2 separate regions of the Homo sapiens genome follow, and region 2 is linked to region 1. Evidence: promoter capture Hi-C in 16 types of primary human blood cells and fetal thymus (Javierre and others, 2016). All regions are on one chromosome and are shown on one strand. Each heading gives the region's core, a stretch centred on a gene start or on the middle of the fragment in contact. The rest is flanking DNA. Distances are from core to core; before and after follow the strand shown. Region 1 holds the start of TEAD3 (TEA domain transcription factor 3). Region 2 overlaps ZNF76 (zinc finger protein 76).

Evidence for each region. The method cuts DNA at HindIII sites, captures the fragments that hold promoters and counts their contacts. A CHiCAGO score of 5 or more calls a contact.
Region 2: a fragment that was not itself captured here is called in contact with the fragment with the promoter of TEAD3 in region 1 in 1 of 17 cell types (non-activated CD4 T cells); the score reaches 6.0 in non-activated CD4 T cells.

The regions. Positions count from the first base shown.
Region 1 is chr6:35,491,843-35,498,328 of GRCh38, forward strand. It overlaps TEAD3 (TEA domain transcription factor 3), which reads right to left and starts at 5,237. Exons shown (of 13, transcript NM_003214.4): 1 at 5,056-5,237. It overlaps TULP1 (TUB like protein 1), which reads right to left. Exons shown (of 15, transcript NM_003322.6): 15 at 6,032-6,486. The coding sequence ends at 6,485. LOC124901309 (a long non-coding RNA gene) reads left to right here and starts at 6,291. Exons shown (of 2, transcript XR_007059561.1): 1 at 6,291-6,365. RefSeq lists enhancers at 1-984, 1-481, 3,481-4,266, 5,213-6,143, 6,144-6,486 and 1 more and silencers at 5,045-5,094, 5,275-5,404, 5,415-5,744. The HindIII fragment of the contact is 26,537 bases long and covers 1-6,486 here.
Region 2 is chr6:35,274,524-35,280,651 of GRCh38, forward strand. The region is part of intron 1 of ZNF76 (zinc finger protein 76); the gene reads left to right. Among named protein-coding and RNA genes, the nearest start is that of ZNF76, 18 kb to the left of the region's middle. The HindIII fragment of the contact is 1,097 bases long and covers 4,281-5,377 here.

The sequences.
Region 1 (6,486 bases), core at 3,987-6,486:
AAGACCTGCTGGAAGAACTGGCTGGACAGCTCCAGGGATCAGGCTGGAGCTGGGGCCGCTGCAGAGGCCCTGGTCCCCCACCCCCACAGACCCTGCAGCCTCCAGACCACCCAGCCCTGTAGCTCCCTTTAGGGGCCCCAGAGCCACTGCCTTGGTAGGAGGCACAGAAAAAGCCAGTCTGGGTGAGTGGGCACCTCCTGTCTTACCCCTTCCCCTGCACCAGCCCTGCTGGGAGGACGAGCTGAGCTGTGACCTTCCTGGGTCTAGCAGCCAGCAGTCCACCCCTGCAGGGACCCCAGCCCCCAAAGCATTCTCACTTGGAGTGAGAACATCACTCAAAATGTGGCAAGATCAGTGAAATCAGCAGTTTCCTCCCAAATCTCTGCCCTCAAACCTGAGCTGGGCTGACCAGCCGGGGGGGTCGAGGATGGGGAGGGCAGCTGAGGAGGGCTAAGGGAGGCTCCCACCCTCTCTGCCTTTTCCTCCCTCCTCCCCTACCCGCCCCACAGCGGGCCAGCTGTTCTCCAGCTGCCAGAAGCTCCCACCCTAGAAGTAGCCATGCTCTGGGGCAGCAGAGCAAGTAGGGATGTATCTGTCTCCCCCACCTCCAGCCCAAGGACCCCGGAGGGACCCTGCCAAGCAGCCACACCCTGCCAGGCTGGGGAGGGCTTCCCTCCTTCCTGGAACAGGGTCTCAATTTTTACAGGAGGAAGCAATTTGCAGAGCCCACTAGGAGGGAGGTGGGGGCCCCTCCACTCTCTCCCCACCCCCCGCCCTGCTTATTAATGTGCTTCCAATTTGGGACTGGAGATTCTCTGCCCCTCCTCCCCACACTACTTGGGAAAGGGGCTTTCTCAGGGAGCAGAGGGGGTTGGGATAGTCCCCCCAGGCCTCCTTCTGCAAAGCTCATCTCATCTGTTGTCACGCTCCTGCTCCCTGAAGCAGTATAGCGGGTAGGAGGGTGGAGACTCAGCCCTCAAGTCCCCTGTAGAGAGAAGGGCCCAGTTTCCAGACCTCCCTTCACCCCCTCCCTGGGACTGACTTATCTCCTCATCTTGTCCTGGTCCCAGGGTGGGAATCTCAGGTATCCAGTGAGAGACAGACTATAGGGGGTCACTGGGTTTCTCAGTTCTCAGTTACCATGCCAGACTCCTGGTACTCTGGGTCGCCCACTGGGCTCCCACCAGCCACTCAGTCAGTGCCCTCATGAGAGTCACGGTGTCATCTAAGAACAAATAGGTTTCCTCTGCGCCCTTCCTCTCGCTCGCATACACAGTTGCGTCACAGCCACTGTCCTGCTCATTCACTGTTACCCGCATCTCTCTCCTGCTGGGTTTTTAAAAATGTCTTTATTGTGATAAAATATACATAACATCAAGTTTACCATTTTAGCCATTTCTAAGTGTACAATTGAGAGGCATTAATTACATTCCTTCTTTGTTTTTATCAGTGTCTTTCTCATTGTCTTCCACATAGATGCCACACGTCAGGGACCACAGGCCCCCAAAAGCATCCCACAGAGCCTCCTACACGCCCTGCCTGGCACAGCCCTGGGGGTGTCACCCACACTACCCGAGAGTCCCAAACACGCTCAGATAGTGACCACCCACCCACAGCGCCAGCATCAGTCACGCCCCACGGTTTCTCTCACATACGGTGTCGCTTTCTGGTGCTCAGTGTCACCCACACACCGCATACCATATTCATGCTTGGCACATGTCGGATGGGGCCCACCTTGCTGGTACACACATCATACTGACACAGAGCTGGTCATGTTGTTTTACTCGCATGTAGTGTCACATGTAAGTCACACACAGACAAACCTGAGGCCATCTCACATGCTGCGTCACAACATGCAGGTCACAAGTGGTCACACCACAGCGTAACACATCACACAGATCGCCACTCATCCGGCTTCTCACGCACACGCGCCCGCGCGCTCACATACACACAGCATCGTGCGAGTGCGGTGTCCTTCACACGCAGGTCACTTGAGCATCAGAGCCACACCCAGTGTCATCTCCAGGTACACACAGATGGCTAGGCAGCCAGCTTCCTTCATCGGCACATCCTGGGTGATGCCCTGGCACACACAGAACATCCCCCATGCAGGTTCTCAGGTACAGAGGTGGCGGCACACCTGGACACATGAAGAGTCACCCAGTTTCTCTTATGGACGTGTATATCTGTCACACACACGAATGTCACAAAGCCACAGTTTCTCTCCTGCATACACCCAGCCCTGCACAAGTTGCTCTGACCAAGGTTCTCTTCCACACACATCCAGCCCCACAGAAGACAAGTCTCACCCACATAGAATGTCCCACTCATGGCTTCTCTCACACACATCCAGCGTCACACACAGTTGCATTCTCATTTCCCTCTAACACTTCCTGCCCTTTCAGGCCTGGCAGGGAGCACAGGAAACAATCGGCACTCTAGGAAACCCCAAGGGCTGAGGCTTTAGGGATGTGCAGGGGGATGAACCTCTCTGGCCCTAACCTCAACCTCCTGTGGGTCGGGGAAGACAGGCAGAGCCCTTTCCCTGGCAGGGTTCTCCCTGGAGGGAAGTGGCCCCTTCTGCAGACAGCCCAGGGCTGGCACAACACCAGGAGGGGAGGGGAGGGAAGGCAGGGCAAGGCCCCAGGGACAGTGCCGAGTGTGACCTGCTGACCTCCCCAGCTCTACCCAGAGGCAGATCCTCAGGGCCACCCCTGGGACCCCACAGCTTCTGCAGCCCCCATGTGGGAAGAAGAGGCTGCGACCTCCTAGCCCCTTCACAGAAAGCTGCAGCGTTTAGACCCCTGGGCTCCTCTCCCCATCCTGGGCGGGGAGGAGGAGGAGGGCAGGACCAGCGATTTCCACACTGAGCCCTGGGACCCCCACAGGTGTCTGGGAGTGGGGCAGAGGGTAGAGCCACCCAAGCGGCCTCTGAGCACCCTTTGTGCCATTCAGCCCTAACAGAACCCATGACCACTTCAGAGGCAAGATCCCCCAATCCACCAAGCCCCCCTGTCCCTTGACACCTGCCCCCCGCCACCTTTTCAGCCCTGTTCATCTGGCTGAGCTACTCCTCAGTCACCCCTTGGTTTGTCCTTGCCTTCTTCTTTGGGCCACTGGATCACCCACCCGCCTCTCCAGACCCCACCAAGTTCAGGTTCCATCATGGGAGAAGGAAGGCAAACTGGGAGACAGACTCTGGGAGGAGCTCAGAGAAAAGGGACTTGAGAAGTCATTCATTCCAAGCAGGGAAACTGAGGCCCAAAGGGGCCTGCCAAGATGGCGCAACTGGTTAAAGGTCCGGAGGGGACCAGATCCCTATTTCTTGACCACCTCTGTTGAGATATCTTCTCCTTTGATATTGTTGAGAATATCAAATCCTCCCGGTTTTAACATTCCTTCAGTTGGCAGAAAGTGCCAGGGTCTACAAACCTTTGGGTGAGGATGGGAGCAGGGCTCAGGACCCATGTGATGCTTCTGTACACTTAATGTGCTGCTCTGTCCTGGCAACCACTGACCACTCTAACAAGCCATTCCCCAGCCCAGATGCGCTCATTAGCATTAATGACGTTCCCTCCCTGGGGGGGTAGGGGAAGGCCCAAGAGCTTGGGACTCATACTGGCTCCTACCCTCTCCCTGAGGAGGGGGCATCCAGGGCCCCTGAAGTTACCCTTACTGGACAGCCTTGTCCTGGAAGATCTGTGCACTCTGCCCACTGGGTGAGCAGGGACCCAGAAGACCACAGAACCACATCCTTTAGGGAGTGCCCCTACGAGAGGGGTCTTGGTGGGAGGGGGGCTACAGGAGTCTAGAAGGGAGAGGACATAATTCCCCCAAATCTCCAACTTTTGAGGAAAGCCTCCCCTCCTTGCCCCAGGTGGCCCCAGCACTGGGGTGGAACATGTGTACAGAGAACCAGGCCACAAGAGACTGGATACGCAGAGCCGCTATGGGCACCAGCCCCTCTGAGCTGTGTCCAGCCCCTACCCCTATGCCCTGTTCTTCCGGACAACAAGTCCAGGCCTGACCTGGTTCTGCCCCTACCTGGAAAGAGGGAAGACACAGAAGAAGACAGCCCCTGAGAAGTCCGCCCCAAGGCCTCCTTCCCCCTCGCACTGAAAGAATCTCTCAGCCCTGGATCAGGGCCCCTCACCAGGAAAGTTGACAGAGCGGGGTCTCAATGACACTGCCCCAGGGCCCAGCTGGGCTGGAAAACAGATCCAGACCAGCGCTCCCAGCCCTCCCTCCCCTAGCAGGAATAAAGGGCATGACAGACAATGGTGGGGACCGGGGTAGGAAGCGGGAGACCAGCCACCCTCAAACCTTGTCAAGTCTAAACAAGGGCCCTGAGCAAGTGTGGGGAAGAAAAGGCCCCAAATCCAGACCCCTCCGAGCCAAGCTCACAGCGCTCAGGGCTGGAACTCTGAATCAGCACCCCGACGCAGGCGGCAGAACTGAAGGGAACGTGAGCCCCTCCCTGCCTCTCAGGGGACACACGGCCGGGGCGCGCGGCTTTGGTCCCAGACACCCTCCACAACCCAGCGCAGCCGCGGCACCGCGCGCAGAAACCGGCCTGGGCGCTGGGAGGCCGGGCCCGAGGCCTGCGTGGAGCTGAGGCCGGGCGGGCTCCGGGAGCGCGCGGGCCGGGAGTCCAAAGGGCGGCGGGGCCCGGGACTGGGCGCCCCGGATATGAGCTCCAGGGTGGCAGGCAGGCCCTCCACACTGTGCGGCCCCCGGATCCCCGCCCCGACCCCCCAAGCACGGACGGCGGGACAGGCGACGGCACAGGGGACACGGTCTCCCCGGCTTCCCCACCTTCCCGGACCAACTCGTCCCCGTCGCGGGGGGGTGGGGAGGGCGGGGGGCGGGGCTTCCCGGAGAGATTTTCCCCCTTCCCTCTAAACTTCCCGGCACCCCGATCCGGGGCTCCAGCTCCGGCTGGACAATAGCTCGGGGACCCAGTCCCCCTCGAGTGTCGCCCCCCCAGCCAGCCCAGCCGACCAACCAAACCACCTCTCCCGAGCGGGGCCTCCTCCCGGCGTCCGCCCGGCTTACCTGGTCCGAGCTCGCGGGGGCGCTCCGGCCGGGCCGCTCCGCCGGGCCCGAGGGAGCCGCAAGGGGGGCCGGGGAAGGGGGGTCGTGGGGAGGGGGCTGGCCGGAATGTGCGGAATGAGCCGGGCTGGAGCGGGAGGCGCCGAGCGCGGAGGAGGGAGCGAGCGGGACGGAAAGTTTGTGTTGAGGAGCCGGGGCGGGGGTGGGGGCTGCGGGAAGGAGGGGGCGGGGCGCGCAGGGGGCGGTGCTGGCCGGGAGGGGCGGGGCCGTCCAGCCGCGCTCGGGCCGCCTACCCCGCGGCCTCGCGACCCGGCCACCCCGGCTGGCGCGCGCCTGGGCGCCCCGCTCCTCGCCCGCCCGTGCGGAGCTGCCTTCCTCCCCCTGCGCTCCGGGCCTCGCCCCGCTCCCGGGCACCCGCCGGAATTTGGGGCTCCGGCCTGGGGCGGGGCCGAGGGCGGAGCCCTCGCCTCGCGGGCAGGGCTCCCGTCGGTGCCGGGGGCCGTGGGTGCCGCGTCACGAGGAGCCCGGCAGAGCCGGAGCGCACGGGCCCCGGGGCTCCCGGCCCCTCCACCCTAGTCCCGAGCCGCCAAGGCGGAGCGTACCCTCCAGCTCGCGGGCCTGCCCCCCACTCCCGGGGCCCCAGACCCGGCTCCGCCCTGGCGGCTGCGCCCGCCCTGCCGGGACCCGGTTTGTCTGGTTCTCCCCGCGTGGCTAGTTTCTCGAATTTCTTCTCCCTTTCTCCCTCTTCCCCGACCTCCGGGACCCTCCCTTTCGCCCCGGCTCCCCGGGCCCCCACGGGGGGCGTCTCGACGCTGTGCGGCCGCCGAGTTTCGGTAGGACCCGCGACGGGCGCGGGGAGGGGACGCGGGAGCGCCCGGGGCCTGGGCAGGAGTGGGACGGGGGTTGAGACTTCCAGCTCGCGCCTCGGACGCCTCCTGCCGCCTCGTTCTCCGCACGCGCTGAGGAACCACCGCTCCGCTTGGCCAAGGACGCGGCTTTATTGGGGATGTGGGTGCCTGGCCCTCGTCCCCCATCACCTACCCCCTCCTCCTAGCCCGCCCCAGCTCCTCGGAGCCCTAGCGCGGTCCCGGGGAGAGGGGAGGTTAAAACAACAATGACTACTGCTCCCGGACAGGAAGTGACTGGGGCGCGGGGAGGAGGGGGGCACAGCGGCGCAGGCGAGCTCCGAGACCAGATGTGCGGCTCCAACTCCAGATGTTCTTCATCTCCGTCCTACCCGCCGTCCGGGCTCCTCCTGCCTCGGCCTGTGCCAGGCTGGGGAGAGGACGGAGGTCACCGAGAGGCAGTGAGAGGTCAGCCCCGACACAGGAGCAGTTTTCCGCGGGAGCTTTGCTGGAGGGACCCTGCCAGCCTCCACTGAATCCTTTCCCCCACGCTGACGGGCTCTGGGGGCGCTGAGGGGCTGCTGGGGTC
Region 2 (6,128 bases), core at 3,579-6,078, 220 kb before region 1:
AGTTTAAGCACATCTTGATTCATGGAGAGACCTAAAGATCCAAAGTATCTAAAAAGTTGGGAGTAGTGGCACACACCTATAGTCCCAGCCACTCAGGAGGCTAAGGCAAGAGGATCGCTTGAGCCCAGGAGGTTGAGTTTACAGGAGCTATGATCACTGCATGCCAACCTGGGCAACAAAATGAGATCCTGTCTCTAAATAAATAAAAGGTTTTTCTAAATGTTCTCTCTCCTCAATAATTACAATTTATGTTTTAACATTAAGAAACACATCGATATATTGCAAAGGTGAAGGGTTGTTTTCCTGCATCAGGACCAGTAATGGGTTAAGTTTATTTAAAAGTGCAGCAGGCCGGGTGCAGTGGCTCACGCCTGTAATCCCAGCATTTTGGGAGGCCAAGGTGGGCGGATCAAGAGGTCAGGAGTTCGAGATCAGCCTAACCAACATGGTGAAACCCCGTCTCTACTAAAAATACAAAAAAATTAGCCGGGCGTGGTGGTGCATGCCTGTAATCCCAGCTGCTCACGAGGCTGAGGCAGGAGAATTACTTGAACCCAGGAGGCGGAGGTTGCAGTGAGCCGAGATTGTGTCATTGCACTCCAGCGTGGGCGTGAGAGCAAGACTCCATCTCAAAAAAAAAAAGAAAAAAAATTGCAGCAAACAGAACTGGATTTGCTCCTAGTTCTGGGAGAGTCAAGAGTGCTCCCTTCTGTCTTCACTCTTTTCTCACCTTCCGCTCTCCCAGTCTGTCTCTCCCCTATACACAGCTCAGGTCATTGCAGAGCTAGTAAACCTTATATCCTACAAGGAGAAAACAGAGCAGCCACCCTCACTGCCCCTCTGCCCTGTCTCGGAGGGCTGCAGGAGTAATGAGTCTGAACCGGCAAGTGCAGGCAGAACTCACACATAGCCATCCTGAAGCAGTAACAAGCCTTTCTTTGGCTCTGCCCATGTCACTGTTGTTAGTTCAGTGCCAGCATGGGAGGATTCAGAGTAAACCATCATTGAAAGAAAGTACAGGGAGAAAAATGGCAATCAGGGCACTGGTAGATGCCTAGCAGCCACAAAGCTTCCTCCTCACCCTCTGCAGTCAGGCTCTTTTGGAAGGCAGCTTCAGAGATTGGGAAAGGTCAGGGAACAACAGTAGCCTCTTTTAAAGGTTTGTATTACGAGACTTAGGAAGGAAACGTGAATGAGTTGAGGTTATTTAGCCTGTACGCGAGAACATGAAAAGGAGTGGAAATTTGTTTTCTTTGAGTCTAAGAAGGGTTATTTTGGGAAGTGTGGCTACCAGCTATTCCCTTTTTCCATTGCGGGTAGGCCAAGAAGGTCTGGGTTTAAGTTACAGTGGGTGAGATGGAAGTTAACCCGTATTCAAGTGTTTTGAGTGCTGACGGTGTGCCAGTCACAGTGAATTAGCAGAAGGAAGAAGTGCGCCAGATATTGAGAAGTATGGGCTCTGGGGCCAGCCAGCCTGGCTTTGAATTCTGGCTTCAACACATAGTAGTGTTGGAACCTTGGACAAGGTACTATACCTCTAAGCCTCAGTTGCCTCATCTGTAAAATGGGTATAATATACCTACTTCCTCATCAGTTATTTTTAAGATTAAGAGTTAATATAGGTAAGGTGCTTTAAAAAGTGGCTGGTATATATTAATCACATTTATATGTGATAAAAATAAATATTAGCATGAGCAGTAGAAAGGATCTTAGGGTAATTTGGGCCAGCATTTCATTTTACAGATAAAGAGGCAGACATAGAGATAGAATCGAGATTAGAAGCCAATTCTGTAGACTTCTAGTCCAGGGTGGTTGCCACTAGTCCTAGCTGTTTTAGGACTTCGTATTGCTTCAAAAGCATTTCCCTTTAGGTTCCTCTTCCTTCCCCTCCTCCTGATAGCTGGTATTTCTAGAGTACAGGCATATGTGCCCTCATTTAATCCCTTACAGCAGGCTATGAAGCAAGTGCCACTATTATCCCCATTTTCTCAGAAGTGACATCTGAGGCTCAGAGAGCCTGCCCAAGGCTACACAGAAGTTCAGCCTGGATTAAAACCCAGACCTGACTTCAGAGCCTGTGCTCTTAACCACACCACTGATTTTCCTTAGAAAGTCCCAGTGGAGTGCAGTTGTGCTCAGTTAAACCATGTGAGTATTTGACAGAGGTGAGCTGCAGGAGCCACAGGGCCCAGGGAGTCTGAGGATATTTTGCAATCCCTTTTCAACCTATGTCTGCTTTGTTTTTATTTTTATTTATTTATTTATGGGTTTTTTTTTTTTTTTTTTTTTGAGACAAGAGTTTTGCTGTTGTTGCCCAGGCTAGAGTGCAGTGATGCAATTTTGGCTCACTGCAACCTCCGCCTCCTGGGTCCAAGCAATTCTCCTGCCTCAGCCTCCCAAGTAGCTAGGCATGTGCTACCACACCTGGCTAATTTTTGTATTTTTTTTTTTTTTTAGCAGAGGCGGGGTTTCACCATGTTGGTCAGGCTGGTCTCGAACTCCTGATCTCAAGTGATCCGCCCACTTCGGCCTCCCAAAGTGCTGGGATTACAGGCATGAGCCACCGTGCCCAGCCTGCTTTGTTTTTAGACCTGGTTTCTCTTATGTGTCTTCTGACACAGTGCAGTTACACTAAAGCGGGTTACCCAAAGAATCTACCTGATGAAGAGAGTGAAGCTTGAAGGTCAGAGCAGACCAAGAGAGGCCAGGAGCAGAGCTCTTGTGAGACAGGGACCACGTGGAGGTTATCAGGGCTCTGGGCAAGGATGCTAATAGACCAGAGATGTCAGATGTCAGAATCCCCACCTTGACCAGTGGTTCTTCACCATTAATCCCTATCAGACCCTGATGACAGCCTTGGATTTCCCTCTCTCCTGGAAAATGCAAAGGCTCACACACCAAAAAAGTATTTTGGAGTAGCTTCAAGTTTCATAAACCCCCAGCTTCACCTCTGTGCTTCGCAGCATAGTAATTAAGGTCACACTCTGGATTAAATGGCCTAGGGTGAAATCCTCCTTTACTAGTTAGCTGTGTAACCTTGAGCAAGTTACTTAACTTGGTCTTGGGCCTCCAGTTCCCTCACTTTTAAATGAGGATAATCATAGCATTTGATTGTAGGATTGTTAGAACTAAATGAGTTAATGTATGTGACATTCCTAGCACGTGGTTAACTCTATAGTAGTGTTCACTATATAATAGTATTGCTGCCCTTGCACCTTAGCCCATTTAGTAAATGTTTATGGACAGAATGAATGAATAATTCTAGTTGAGATGCCATGCCTGGGGTAGAGCATTCCAATCAGCGTGTCGCAGTTGGTCTATAGGTTTTTTTGGGTTTTTCGTTTGTTTGTTTTTGAGACGGAGTCTCACTCTGTCGCCCAGGCTGGAGTGCAGTGGTGCAGTCTTGGCTCACTGCAAGCTCCGCCTCCCAGGTTTATGCCATTCTTCTGCCTTAGCCTCCCGAGTAGCTGGAACTACAGGCGCCCTCCACGCCCGGCTAATTTTTTGTATTTTTAGTAGAGACAGGGTTTCACCCTGTTAGTCAGGATGGTCTGGATCTCCTGACCTTGTGATCTGCCCGCCTCAACTTCTCAAAGTGCTGGGATTACAGGTGTGAGCCACCACGCCCAGCCAGTTTTTGTTTTGTTTTTTTCTTTTTTTTTGAGACGGAGTTTCGCTGTTGTTGCCCAGGCTGGAGTGCAATGACACGATCTCGGCTCACCGCAACCTCTGCCTCCCAGGTTCAAGCAATTCTCCTGCCTCAGCCTCCCAAGTAGCTGGGATTACAGGCATGTGCCACCATGCCCAGCTAATTTTGTATTTTTAGTAGAGACGGGGCTTCTCCATGTTAGTCAGGCTGGTCTCGAACTCCTGGATGGTCTATAATTTTGCCAAGATATTGATCCGCTCGCCCCTCAGGGCTGTCAAAGCCCCAGTTGGTCGCTTCTGGCTTGAAGCAGTGACATCTGCAATGTGAACTTCTGACTTTAAGCAGCAGCATCTGCAATGCAATGTACAAATATCTGTCTCTCTAGGTCCCCTGACATGAAAACAGTTTGGGTAGCACCAGTCAAAGATATCGGTTGGTAAGTCGTGAGAATCCAGTAGGCAGTCCAGATTCCAAGTCCAGGAGAATTTTGAGAATGGATGTCAAAGAGAGTCTTCACGACTGCACTGAGTTTAGAGGCCGTGGGCTTCCTGCAGGCTTCACAAGTGTTGGGGTCCACTGCTAGAGCAGGCTGCACACCACAGTGGGTACAGAAGATATCCTGCCAGCAGGAAGCTTCAGTGCTTCCCACCTTGCACATGAGGGACCCAGGGAGTCACTCACAGGATGTGTGGAGAGCCCACAGTGTGAGTTGCTGGAGAAACCACTGTGACGCAGAAACCAGGCTAGAGCCCAAAGCCTTGTGTAGGCAACGGACATTAAACAGATAGTGATGAGTACTGAAGTAGGTTGAGCCCAGAGGTGTGAGTGCTAGGAAAAGGTGGTACCTAGGCTGTGGGAGTTTATAACAACCCAGCCTTGTATGCAAGGTGGACTCTAAGAGCTGTAGGAAACTATGGAAGGGTTTTAGTCAAGGAAGTGGTATGTTTAGATTTGTACTCTTTTTTTCTTATAAATCTACTTTTATTTATTTACTTTTCATTAGCTTAAGTCCTTGAGGGGCACAGCGTCACACAGATTCTGTGTTCAATAGCTTTAGCAAGATTGCTTGGGAATTTAGCACAAACCATGCCACTGTTTCCATGGGCCTGAGTTTACCTTTCCCCAGATTATGCTGGTTTTCTTCAGTTTGCTGCCAGCAGTCAGTGTGTTGTTCTTTGCTTTATACATGTAAGTACATCTCTTGCCTAAATAGAATTAGTTTCATTTCGAGCATAAATACCTTCAATTTTTTTTTTTTTTTTTTTTTTTTTTTGGGACGGAGTCTCGCTCTGTCGCCCAGGCTGGAGTGCAGTGGCGCGATCTTGGCTCATTGCAAGCTCCACCTCCCAGGTTCATGCCATTCTCCTGCCTCAGCCTCCCAAGTAGCTGGGACTACAGGTGCCCACCACCACGCCCGGCTAATTTTTTGTATTTTTAGTAGAGATGGGTTTTCACCATGTTAGCCAGGATGGTCTCAATCTCCTGACCTCGTGATCCACTGTCCTCGGCCTCCCAAAGTGCTGGGATTACAGTCGTGAGCCACCGCACTTGGCCAATACCTCAATTTTAATAAGAGCTGTGTCCTCGCTTTGGTTCTGGAGGCCCCACTTACAGCTAGCAAAAAATGGCCTTGGACTACAGCCTTCCAAATGTATTGTATTTATCTTATTATTATTTTTGAGACAGAGTCTCTTTATCACCCAGGCTGGAATTCAGTGGTATGATCAAAGCTTACTGCAGTTTCAAATTCCTGGGGTCAGGCAGTGCTCCCACCTCAGCCTCTTGTGTAGCTAGGATTGCAGGCATGTGCCACTACACCTGGCTAATTTTTTTTTTTTTGTAGAGACAATGTCTTGCTGTGTTGCCCACATTGGTCTTGAACTCCTAGCCTCAAATAATCCTCCTGCCTCAGCCTCCCAAAGCACTGGGATTACAGGCATGAGCCACTACACCCCGCCCATATTTGCCTTTTGGAAGTCCTGTTCTCAGCAGGCCTCTACAGGCTCCAAGATAGTGGGAAGAGAGCTTTTTTTTTAAATTCACCCTGACAGCATAAACATGAATGTTAGAACATGAGTTGGAAGAGGCTGAGGCAGGAAGATCACTTGAGCCCAGGAGTTCGAGGTTACAGTGAACTGTGATGGAGCCACTGCACTCCAGCTGGGCGACAGAGTGATACTTTGTCTCTAAAAAAGGAAAGAAAAGAAAATGAATTGGAAACAGACAAAAGTTTATCTGAGGACATAAGTTATAAGGCTCCTTATAGTTGTCCAGAGGTGAAAGGTGAGACATGCCTGAAATAAGTACCTGGACTTTTAAGGGAAAAGGAGGACTCAAGCATGATCCCCCCCCCCCCCGCCCTGAAGTTCTGGGTGGAAGGCGATACCACCCCTGGGATAGGGGATACTGGAAGTACAATAGTTCTGGAAGGTTGGGACACATTGTGAGTTCTGTTGAGGACTTATTCCACGTGTGGTAC